Regions from separate parts of the Homo sapiens genome. Here region 2 is linked to region 1. Evidence: promoter capture Hi-C in human tissues and cell types (Jung and others, 2019). All regions are on one chromosome and are shown on one strand. The core of a region is centred on a gene start or on the middle of the fragment in contact, and the rest is flanking DNA. Distances in the headings are between cores, read along the strand shown. Region 1 holds the start of RAPGEFL1 (Rap guanine nucleotide exchange factor like 1). Region 2 has its middle 5.8 kb from the start of GSDMA.

The links. Contacts are between HindIII fragments. The study calls those that stand out against the background at their distance.
Region 2: a contact is called between a fragment that was not itself captured here and the fragment with the promoter of RAPGEFL1 in region 1, in 1 of the 25 tissues and cell types used here (adrenal gland).

Annotation. Positions count from the first base shown.
Region 1 is chr17:40,174,498-40,180,562 of GRCh38, reverse strand. It overlaps RAPGEFL1 (Rap guanine nucleotide exchange factor like 1), which reads right to left and starts at 3,093. Exons shown (of 15, transcript NM_016339.6): 1 at 2,182-3,093. The coding sequence starts at 2,701. RefSeq lists enhancers at 1,110-1,964, 1,965-2,821, 3,213-3,713, 3,714-4,214 and a silencer at 3,052-3,181. The HindIII fragment of the contact is 8,651 bases long and covers 1-4,364 here.
Region 2 is chr17:39,954,196-39,960,260 of GRCh38, reverse strand. No RefSeq gene overlaps it. Among named protein-coding and RNA genes, the nearest start is that of GSDMA, 5.8 kb to the left of the region's middle. The HindIII fragment of the contact is 4,228 bases long and covers 1,672-5,899 here.

The DNA of each region.
Region 1 (6,065 bases), core at 1,844-4,343:
GTCAGAGGGGGCTGCTTGGACGTTGGAGAGGCTTTGGTAGGTTCAGAGTAACTTCTGTAAGTTCTCTCCTCCCACACACCCTGGGAGGAGACCAGGATGACTTGAGAACATTGGTTTTATTGGAGAACATCAGAGTGGCAGGTTAAGCTGATTCTCATTCACCTGGGACTGGTTTGGAATTTCCCAAACTAGTTACTCTGGGGATCCAGGCTGCCAGATAACATGGGTGACATTTCAGGAGTCTTACCCCAGGGGAGAATGAGCGGAGCGTGTGGCACCAGGCCCCTGTAAAAGGGGAAAGACAGCTTCTCCCTTTTCCTCCCTGCCCAGCTACCCTGCTGTGTTCTTACAATGAGTCAGAGAGCCTCCAGCTCTGACCCCCAGCTTCAGGGATGAGGGTGAGGAAACGAGAGGCCTGACATCCTTCATAGACTTTATCTCACAGGATTCCTAAGCTGGAGCAAAGGAAGAGTAAGATGGGGCAGAGTTGGGGAGATGCTGATATGGGGGCCACAGTTGGGCATCTGTCTTTTCCAAAGCAGGCTCTGGGCCAATGTACAGCCTCCCTAGGGAATGTGTCATAGAGACACAGGGTGTGTGGTGTAGGCGGGAAGTTATGGTTAGGAGAGCTGTGTGTGTCTGATATTTTTCTAATTAAATCCAAAAGGTGTCAGCTCCCCAGGGCAACTACAGCCTGCTCCAAAGGAGAGGACCCAGGTCTTGAGAAGGATCTAGGAGAGTGGAGCCCCCCTCCACACATCTAGGTTGGGGTTCCCTGCCGAGGGCTGAGAGCAAGTGTGAAAGCCCTCACCATTAGGGCCTCAGCCGGGGCTCCCAAACCTCAGACCCTCCTGGGCTTAGAGTAATGCCTAGAGCTAGACCTAAAGAACCCTCGGTCTTCTACCTCAGAACTAACCAGATTTGGGGCCTTGGTTTCCTCAAAGGCCCCTTAGTAGGGGTGCTGAAAGGGAGTGGTGAAATAGTATCATCATTTAGGGAATAAGCTTCTCAGGGTGTGGTGATTATATTTTAAAGAGGCCGTGTGCCAGGTCCGGTGGCTCACGCCTGTAATCCCAGCACTTTGGGAGGCCGTGGGGTGGGGGTGGGGGGAGGTAGATAACGAGGTCAGGAGTTCAAGACCAGCCTGACCAAGTTGGTGAAACCCCGAAACCCCGTCTCTACTAAAACTACAAAAATTAGCCAGGCCAGTGGCTCACGCCTGTAATCCCAGCACTTTGGGAGGCCAAGGCAGGTGGATCACGAGGTCAGGAGTTCGAGACCATCCTGGCTAACACGGTGAAACCCCTGTCTCTACTAAAAATACAAAAATTAGCCAGGCGTGGTGCCACATGCCTGTAGTCCCAGCTACTCAGGAGGCTGAGGCAGGAGAATCGCTTGAACCTGGGCGGTGGAGGTTGCAGTGAGCTGAGATGGCGCCACTGCACTCCAGCCTGGGTGACAGTGAGACTACATCTCCAAAAGAAAAAAAAAAAAAAGCCGGGTGCTGAGGCCTGCCACCGAAGGGTGGAAGCTGGAGGCGCTTGGACACCCTGGATGCTGCAGGGCCATGATGCCGGCCCAGCCACCTCTCCCCTCCCAGACACCTTCTGAGTCCAGCCCAAGGAGAATACTATCCCCCCCACCAAACTGCTAAGGACAACGCATCCCTTTGCTGATGCCTAAAAGGCAGCTTGGGGCCTGTGCCTGTCTGGCACTGCCTCCCTGGGTGGGTCAGCCTGCGCTGTGTAGGCCTCTGAACAGTCAGGGACCCCAGGGTTTTCAGGGCTAAAGCACCTCTGGCGGGTGGCATGGCTGCGCTGGGCAGCTCCCATTTTAATGTGTCAGGCCCTAATTTGGGGCCACAGGAGGAGGTATTCAACATCAGGGACCCATGGGAGTCAGTGGCTCCAATGCCCAGGGGAAAGGAAGGGTGGCTGAAGGAGAGTAAGAGGCTCAGCTGCTTCTCCAGACGAGGGTGAGGCTGCTGTAGGGAGGAAGGTGAGTACTGCTCTCCTCTTCCGCGGGAGGGTCTGTACCTCCGCTAGGCCCCTAGCCGGCTTCCGCGGACCACTCAACCCTATAACCAAGCCCCGGCACGGCGCCACCCCTACGCTCCAAGGGCAAGGAAGAGGAGCCGGGGCCAGCCCCTGCTCTGGGTGTTCGAGCCCACCGGCTCCTTACCTGAGGCGGCGCTGTCCCTGGTAGCCCCTCCAGCAAGCCGCTCCAGAACCCGGTTCAGAAGATGCTCGGGCCGCTCGGGGGCGCCCAGAGGGGCCCAGGGCGGCGAAGTCAAGGGCTCGCCTGGGGACAGCTCGTCAGATGAGTAGGAGGAAGGGGAGCGCAGGGGCCCCCCTCCCCCGAGAGGCCCGGGCCCCGGCACCTCCTCCAGCTGCAGCCAGCAGGGCCCCCCGCTGCCCGGCTCCTCCGCGACCCCCGCCGGCTCTCCTCCTTCCTCCTCAGGGGGCGGCTCCAGCCCCGGCTCGGCGGGGGGCTCCCGGAGGAAAGCGGGGAGCAGCAGGCGAGACACGCTCTGACGCCGCTGCAACGACCGCTGTCCCCCGGCTGGACCGCCGCCCCCGCCGGGTCCCCCACCCCCTCCAGGCCCACCGCAGCTCCCCAGACCCCCGCCGGGACCTCCCGCCACCGTTCGGCCCGCCAGCTGCGACGTCTGCTTCTTCAGAAATTTCTCCAGCGGCTTCATGCCCCCCCCCGCCCCTCTCCTAGGGGTCGCCGGGGGACCCAGGTATCCCAGGCGCGGGCGGGGGGGGCGGCGAAGACACGATGCTCAGAGCTGGAGGAGCAGAGTAGAGGGCCGTGCCAGGCGCCAGACTGGGGGCCAGAGGGGCCGAGCCTCGCTGGCCAGAGTCCAGTGGCCAGTAGCCGGGGGAGGTGCCAGAGGAAAGGAGTGCTCGCTCTCAGCAACCCCCCATGCCGGCTGCAGCCGGCACGCGGCCCGAAGAGTGGGCAGGCTGCGGGGCCGGTGCGCCCGGCTCTGCGCTGCGGCGGCAGAGGCAGCGGGCGGAGCGCAAGGCTGAGAGGACGCGGCGGCGGCGGCGGCGGCGGCTGCGCTCCTGGCCGTGAAGAGGGGGAAGGTGGCAGAACCGAGACCGCGCCCCCTCCTCCAGTCCCCGCCCAGTCCCCGCCCCTACCCTTCCTCGGCTCGCCCCCGCGCCGCACGAGGCTTGAACTCGCGCGCTGGGGTTGACCGCGAGGGAAACAGTAAGGGACTTGGGTTCTAAGCAGAAGAAATTAAGGGCAAAGGTAAGTCAGAGATTTACCAATGGGGAAGGATTCCTGGCTCAAGGGATAACCGGGTCTCAGCATCATTTCAAAGAGTCAGGACAGGTCTGTGGCCTGGACACCTTCACTCACCTACCTGTGTACCCAAGTCAGGCCTACAGATTGCTGAACCCAAGAGTGTGCACCTTTCTCATACTCACAGAAATATGTGGAGTTTATCTTCCTTCTGTGAGAAGAGCTGGGAAGGCCTCTTGGGTGAATTAGCATTGCCACTGGAGGCGGTGCCCATCTGTCCTCTCTGGTAGGGCACAATAGGTGGTGTGGGCCTGGTCTGTGGGCAGGTACTGGCAGGCAGGTAGGAGCCAGGCAGGGAGCAGCAGGTTGTGGCAGGTCTAGCTGGGGTGAGGAGGGGATAATAGGCAGTGGGGAGGAGACCAGGAGCACAAGGGCACCTGAGCCCAGCTGGCAGCAGAAGGAAGCAGGGCCATGGAGACAGGTGACAAGCCCCAGAACTGCCGACTATCATCAAGCACAGAGCCCAAGTGTACATGGCCATGGAGTGGGAAAAGTGGTGCCAATTAGCACTCCAAGTAATCCTTACTCCTGATGCCCACACCAGGAGCATTCTGTCCTTAAGGATATGCTGCCCCAGAAGGAGTGTGGGGGAGGAGGGGGGTGCATCGTAAAGCCATGCTAAGTGTGAGAACATCCAGGTTAGACTTACAAGGTGTGGGAGTGGCAGCAGGTTCTCGATGGGTTGAGGCTCTCTGGACAATGCCCCACCCCTGTTTACCGAGCACCAACCAGGCAGAGACAGGAATGCTAATGGCTGGGAGTGGTAGTAAAACTGAACAGGGTGTGTATGACATACGTATCAATGTATGTGCATATCTGTTCCCATGTGTGCTAGAGCATGTGTTCACAGAAATAAAGCTTTGCACACCCATCTGTTTGTGGATTTGGAAACAGTAAAAAGAAGACAGCGCACAATTTTGGCTAAGAAGCTGTATTAGAGGTCTGAGTATCAGCTTCCTGTGCTCCCCTTATTGGACACTCCAATATCCCCTGGCTTGAAAGGGGAAAGTGGCTGGAATGGGTTGGAGCTCCCCAGGTAGCATTTTATGAACTGAATAGGAAGAGGGAAGGGCTTCTCTCCCAGCACATGCCACAGTTACCAGATTAAGCCGGTTGCCTTGGTAACCTTCTCTCTGGGCAGGATTTGGGAATTGTTGGTTAGGAAGGGCGAATTGGGGAGTGTGAAGGGTGTAGGGGGTTGAAAATAAAACAGACTGAGAGACTTCTGGAAGCTAGAAGCTTGGGACACAGGACCCCAGTACTCCCCCAAATGCTCAAGGATGTCAGGCAGAGACTAAGTTCAACATTTTGAATCAGTGAGGAGAGCCAGCATCAAGTCATGGTCCTCCTGGAGTGGCAGTGGTTTTCACCCTGACTACACACTGGAATCACAGGGAAGCTTCTCAGAAATACTGATGCTGGCTGGGCTTGGTGGCTCACGCCTGTAATCTCAACACTTTGGGAAGCCAAGGCGGGCAGATCACTTGAGGTCATGAGTTCAAGACCAGCCTGACCAACATGGTGAAACCCCACTTCTAAAAATACAAAAAAAATTAGCCGGGCATGGTGGCACACACCTGTAATCCAAGCTACTTTGGAGGCTGAGGTAGAAGGATTGCTTGAACCTGGGAGGTGAAGGTTGCAGTGAGCTGTTATCATGCCACTGCACTCCAGCCTGGGTGAGAGACTCCATATTAAAAAAAAAAAAAAAATACTGGCCAAGTGCAACAGCTCACGCCTATAATCCCGGTACTTTGGGAGGCCGAGAAGGGTGCAACATGAGGTCAGAAGTTCGAGACCAGTCTGGCCAACATAGTGAAACCCTGTCTCTACTAAAAATACAAACATTTGCTGGGCATGGTGGCTGGTGCCTGTAATCTCAGCTACTCAGGAGGCTGAGGCAGGAGAATCGCTTGAACCCGGGAGGTGGAGGCTGCAGTGAGCCGAGATCATGCCACTGCACTCCAGCCTGGGCAACAAGAGCAAGACTGTCTCAAAAAAAAAAAAAACAAACAAACAAAAAAAAAACTGATGCCTAGGCCATATCTCAGACCAATTAAATCAGATTTCTGAACCAGGGCGAAGGCTTATGGTATTTTTTAAAAAGCTCCTCACATGACACAAATGGCCAGGATTGAAAATCACTGCCCTAGACGGACAGTCAACCCAAGTGGGCTGCAGATGCTGGGAGCTGACTTTGGAATTCCAAGTCTTTGGTGCTCCGAGTTGCCTACAAGGTAGCAGGTCTGTGCGCTGACCCTGAAGGGGAAGAGAGCTGGCAGAGCATTTGCACCCGCTTATGGAAGAAATAAAGAGGAAGGCAGGGTGGTATGAATAACAACTATGAGATGGGGGCGAAAAAGCTTTGAGCTTTTTTTGAGCCCATGGGCTTCTACAAGGGGACTGGGCAGGGCCACCTCAGGCTATCTGTCTGCTGCTTACACACCCTCTTCTTTCTGCCCACCCAGAGGCAGGCTGGGAGGATAGAGAGAACCTGGGGGCTTTGCTGAGCTTGAGTTTCTTCTTGCAGAGCTGGTTACCAGGGCAACAGAGAGAGCAATAGGGTCTAACTGAAGGACTAGGGAAGCAAGAGGCAAGGGTAAAGGGGAAGCATCCAACACTCAAACCTCCTGCCAGTAACCCACCCCCAAGGCTGGATGGCATTTTTTCATAACCCCAGGAGATCAGGCCTACAGTCACCCATCACATTGTGGGGAAGAGAAGCAAACTGACATGATTTAAAGAGGAAT
Region 2 (6,065 bases), core at 2,536-5,035, 220 kb after region 1:
TTCCTCCCATCCAGGGTGCCCTGCCTCTTTTTCTTTCTTTTCTTTTTTTTTTTTTTGAGATGGAGCCTCACTCTGTCTCCCAGGCTGGAGGGCAGTGGTGTAATCTCGGCTCACTGCAACCTCCGCCTCCTGGGTTCAAGCAATTCTCCTACCTCAGCCTCCCGAGTAGCTGGGTTACAAGCACATGCCACCGCTCCCAACTAATTTTTGTATTTTTAGTAAAGACGGGGTTTCAACCCTGTTCGCCAGGCTGGTCTCGAACTCCTGACCTCAGGTGATCCACCCACCTCGGCCTCTGAAGGTGCTGGGATTACAAGCGTGAGCTACCGTGCCCAGCTGCGTCTTTTTCTTTTCTTTCTTTCTTTCTGTTTTTTTTTTTTTTTGAGACAGGTTCTCACTCTGTTGCCCAGGCTGGAGTGCAGTGGTGCAGTCATGGCTCACTGCAGCCTTGACTTCCTGGGCTAAAGGGATTCTCTCATCTCAGTGCCCGCTCCCTGCTCCCAGTACCTGGAACTATAGGCATGTGTCACCACACCTGGCTTTTTTTTTTTTTTTTTTGAGATGGAGTCTTGCTCTTATCGCCCAGGCTGGAGTGCAATGGCACAATATTGGCTCACTGCAACCTCCGCCTCCCGGGTTCAAGCGATTCTCCTACCTCAGCCTCCAAAATAGCTGGGATTACAGGCACGCACCACCACGCTTGGCTAATTTTTTGTATTTTTAGTAAAGACGGGGTTTCACCATGTTAGCCAGGATGGTCTCGATCTCCTGACCTCGTGATCTGCCCGCCTCGGCCTCCCAAAGTGCTAGGATTACAGGCTTGAGCCACTGCGCCCGGCCATGCCTGGCTCACTTTTTAATTTTTTGTAGAGAAGGGAGTCTCCCTATGTTGCTCAGGCTGATCTTGAACTCCTAGGCTCAAGCAGTCCTCCTGCCTCGGTCTCCCAAAGTGCTGGGGTTACAGGCGTGAGCCACTGCGCCCGGCCTGGGGCAGAATTTAAATTGTACTGGCGGATATTTAAGTTAGACTGCCTTGTAAGGACGCTTCAGGTCAATTAAAAGAGACAATAAGGAAGCAGGACCTGGTCATGCGGTGAGTGCTGCTCAGGCAGGCGGTAAACTTTGCTCTCTACCTCCCTCTGGTGGTCAATTAAGGTAGTGATGGACAATGATCACCTCTGATTTAGAGACCAAGCTTGTGACTATGTAGGGTTGTTAGGAGACAGGGATCAGGAGAGAGAATTGATTTAGGAGAGGAAGCCCCAGGCACCTGCCCCGTGGGACCATTGCTGTCTCTCTGACCCATAGAGTGCACTGCAGACAGACACAGTCATTGGGACAGGGCATTATTTCCTTACTCATTTTCCCTTTTGTTATTGTTTTTGTTGTTGTTTTTTGAGACCGAGCCTCACACTATTGCTGGCTGGAGTGCAGTGGCACAATCTCGGTTCACTGCAACCTCCGCCTCCCAGGTTCAAGTGATTCTCCTGCCTCAGCCTCCCGAGTACCTGGGACTACAGGTGCGCACCACCACACCGGGCTATTTTTTGTGTTTTTAGTAGAGGCAAAGTTTCACCACATTGGCCAGGCTGGTCTCGAACTCCTGGCCTCAAGTGATACACCCACCTTGGCCTCCCAAATTGCTGGGATTACAGGTGTGATCCACTGTGCCTGGCCTCCTTTTTATTATTGTTGATTTCCCCCTCAGCATGGGGTCAGAGAAAACAGAGAAAAGTAGATTATGGGCGTTCATGGAAGTCACAAACTCTGGCCAGAATGGGAAGAAGCTGGCACCCTGCGAGTTGGGAGGGCAAGGAGAATGTTGTAGGATTTGGAGCCTACTTGAAGGGTGCAGGATAACTGGAGCATTTGCAAGAAGTGATCCCTCACATGAACATATTCCCAGACCTGCCCTGAACAAAAGGAGGTGGAATGGTAATGGTTAGGGATGAAGACAGGCTGGGCTGGGGCATGACTGCCTGGTGGAGGCGCAGGAATAATGCTTCCTAGGGATGCTGTGTTTTATCTCTCATATGGGAGGTTGGATGTTTGGGGGTGCAGATCATAGATTGTGAGCTATACTTCCATAAATTCTCCTTTCTGAACAGAGTAAAGCTCCCATACTCTTTCCTTATTCTCTAAAAAGCTTTAATGTTTCTTCCCAAATTCCCAAATCAGCTTTGGAGTCCAAGACCTCCCCAGACTCTGGCTGAACAGACATCAGTGTTCAGCTCTAAGTGTGTCAAACTCAGCATCCAGCTTCAAGGTGTCAGCCCTCACTGCCCCCACCCCTCCACTGCCAATCCCCCTACCCATCAGCCCTGTCTGGGCAAGGAGGCCACTGCCAGCCTCCAGCCCAAACCCAGAGAACTCTCTTCTGTCAGGTGATCCTCCCAGCAACCCACCTCTTCCTGAGCCCCTGCTGATGCACGGGAGCATGTGTTGGAGCTTTTCTGTATTTTTTTTTCTTTTTCTTTCTTTTTTTTTTGAGATTGAGTTTCGCTCTTGTTGTTCAGGCTGGAGTGCCAATCTTGGCTCACTGCAAACTCCGCCCCCCGGGTTCAAGCGATTCTCCTGCCTCAGCCTCCCGAGTAGCTGGGATTGCAGATGCGCGACACCACACCCGAATAATTGTTGCATTTTCAGTATAGATGGGGTTTCACCATGTTGGCCAGGCTGGTCTCGAACTCCTGACCTCAGGTGATCCACCCACCTCGGCCTTCCAAAGTGCTGGGATTATAGGCATGAGCCACCGCGCCCGGCCACTATTCTGTATTTTCACCAGCTCCCCTAGGCTTGTCCTCAAGCCCCATCCTGCCTTCCCTAGCCATGGGCGGGCAGGGCTGGGGATCCCTGATGAATAAAATATCTGGAGAGCCAAGTGTTGTTGGCCAGCACCCGAAAGATGGAGAGGCTGGCTTACAGGACACAGAGCAGTGTCAAGGCATTTGGCTCCCAGGTGTAAGGAGGATCTGTCTCCTTGGTCTCCTTATATGTCAAGGCCACAGAGTCCCATCAGGGCCTGACCACTTTCAGCTCCTCACCTCAGAACCCCCTGAGCAGCTCAAAGTAAAGACAGAAGGGCTCCATCTCTCCCTGAAAGAAATTCTAGTCCAGGATGGTTTCCATCTGCACAGTGGAGAAAAAGCATCACAGGATGCTTTGCATTTAGGGAGCCACCAACTTCAGAAGTGGTCTGCAGTAAAATTGTATTTTATTATCTGTCTGTCTGTCTGTCTGTCTGTCTGTCTATTTTTGAGACAGAGTCTTCCTCTATCGCCCAGGCTGGAGTGCAGTGGCACGATCTCGGCTCACTGCAGCCTCTGCCTCCCAGGTTCAAGCAAGTCTCCTGACTCAGCCCCACAAGTAGCTGTATGTACAGGAACATACCACCATGCCCAGCTAATTTTTGTATTTTTAGTAGAGATGGGGTTTCACCAGGTTGGCCAGATGGGTCTCGAACTCCTGACCTCAGGTGATCTGTCTGCCTTGGCCTCCCTAAGTGCTGGGATTACAGGTGTGAGCCACCATGCCTGGCCTGCAGTAAAATTTTAAATTTTAATTTTCAGTAAAAATTTAAATTTCAGCCCCTGTCGCTGTTCTGCAGTGAGCAGATATCTGCAAACCTACCCCCAAAGGCCAAGGGAATCGAAAGGCCAAAGAAGGAGACTGACAGGCCAGACGTGGTAGCTCACGCCTGTAATTCCAGCACTTTGGGAGGCCGAGGCGGGCGGATTATTTGAGGTCAGGAGTTTGAGACCAGCCTGGCCAGCATAGTGAACTCCCATCTCTACTAAAAATACAAAAATTAGCTGGGCGTGGTGGCAGACGCCTGTAATCCCAGCTATTTGGGAGGCTGAGGTAGGAGAATCGCTTGAACCCAGGAGGCGGAGTTGCAGTGAGCCGAGATCACGCCATTGTACTCCAGCCTGGGGGACAACAGCGAGACTTCGTCTCAGAAAAAGAAAGAAGAAAGAAAGAAAGAAAGAAAGGAAAGAAAGGAAAGAAAAGAAAGAAAGAAAGAAAGAGGCTGACAAATCCAGCTTCTTAGAAAGAAACATTTAATAGGGACTTATGAACAAAAGTGGTTCCCCACACCTGCTGTCCAGAAAATATCTTTTCTATAACAAGCCTTTAGAGTGAAACAGGTGCAGCCAGTCATGGCTCAGACTGTCTTGCAAAAGTCATGGCCACTGGGGAGGTTAGATACACATCTATATGAGGGATTATCTGTGTTACAGGCATTGTTGCTTTATGACGGGTTGGTATGGTTTCGCTGTGTCCCCCACCCAAAATCTTATCTTGAATTATAATCACCATAATCCCCATGTGTTGGGGGTGGGACCGGGTGGAGGTAATTGAGTGATGGGGGTGGTTACCCCTATGCTGTTTTCATGATCATGAGTGAGTCTCATGAGATCTGATGGTTTTATAAGTATCTGGCATTTCCCCTGCTTGCATTCACTCTGTCCTGCTGCTCTGTGAAGGTGTCTTCTTCTCTTTTCCTTTCCGCCATAATTTTAAGTTTCCTGAGGCCTCCCCAGCAATGTGGAACTGTGAGTCAATTAAATGTCTTTCCCTTATAAATTACCCAGTCTCAGGTATTTCTTCACAGCAGTGTGAGAATGGACTAATACAGGGGTTATCTATGCTACAGGCATTGTTTAAGGACTTTGCTGCCAGAATCAGGAATCCAATACCAGTCACCATGGCAGTTTTGCTTCAAGGTGGCATCACACTGCCATTCTTTTACTTTTTATTTTTTATTATTTCCTATATTAAATAGAGATGGGGTCTGGCTATGTTGCCCAAGCTGGTGTGGAACTCTTGGCCTCAAGCAATCCTCCTGCCTCGGCCTCCCAAAGTTCTGGGATTGTAGGTGTGAGCCACCGCACCCAGCCTCTCTTGCTATTCAACAAGCTATTTTATTACAGTCCCCATCCTTGATCCCCCCTCTGTCTGTTAATGCTAGAGTGAAGCAGAGATGGGCAAGGATTAAGAATCCGGAGACCTAAGTTCTGTAGAGAGTTCTGCTAAGAGCCTGCTGTGTGGCCCTAAAGTCTTGTGTGCTCTCTGGGCCTCAGACTGCCCATCCACAAGTGTGGGGGTGGAGCTGGATGAGCTCAAACTCAATTTTCTCCTCGTTGTCATCCCCCAGGTCCCTCTCCAGCTCCACCTATTGGGAAAGGATCCCCTTCTCCCTGGACATGGCCAGCAGCTGCTGTTGCACCTCACTCAGCTCTGCAGAGGGTAAAGGAGAGGAAAGGGCATGAGGGACACGGCATGCTCTCCCTCCTTCTGTGGGCAGGGCATTGTAAAGTGGCTCTGGGGGCCGGGTGTGGTGGTTCACACCTGTAATCCCAGCACTTTGGGAAGCTGAGGGGAGCGGATCACTTGAGGTCAGGAGTTTGAGACCAACCTGGCCGTGATGGGGAAATCCCATCTACTAAAAATACACAAATTAGCTGGGTGTGGTGGTACATGCCTGTAATCCCAGCTACTCGGGAGGCTGAGGCAGGAGAATTGCTTGAACCTGGGAGGCAGAGGTTGCAGTGAGCTGAGATCCCACTGCTGTACTCCAGCCTGGGCAACAGAGAGAGACTCCGTCTCCAAAAAAAAAAAAAAAAAAAAAAAGTGGCTCTGGGAACTGGGGTTAGCTCCCATGTGTGTCCGTGGAGGGGAAGTGGGCGGCAGATTCATTTTTTCTCCTCCAGGAGAGGATGAGAGGAGATTCCTGGAATGGTATGTTCCCTTTTCCCCTTTTGGGAAAAATGAGCTGGCGTAGGGATGGTAGGTGGGCTTGCCCCTCTTGCCTTTTCCTTGGAGGAAGGGACAATAGGGTCTGCACCCTGCCCACTCTGCTTGTAGCTTGGTATCAGGGCTGGCTTCATGGGCATGCAACCTGTGCAGTTGCACACAGCCCCATGCTTCGTTTAATGCTCTGCTGCTACTGTCTTGAATATAATTTTTTTTTTTTTTGAGTTTTGCTCTTGTTGCCCAGGCTGGAGTGCAATGGCGAGGTCTCAGCTCACTGCAAACTCCGCCTCCCATGTTCGAGCGATTCT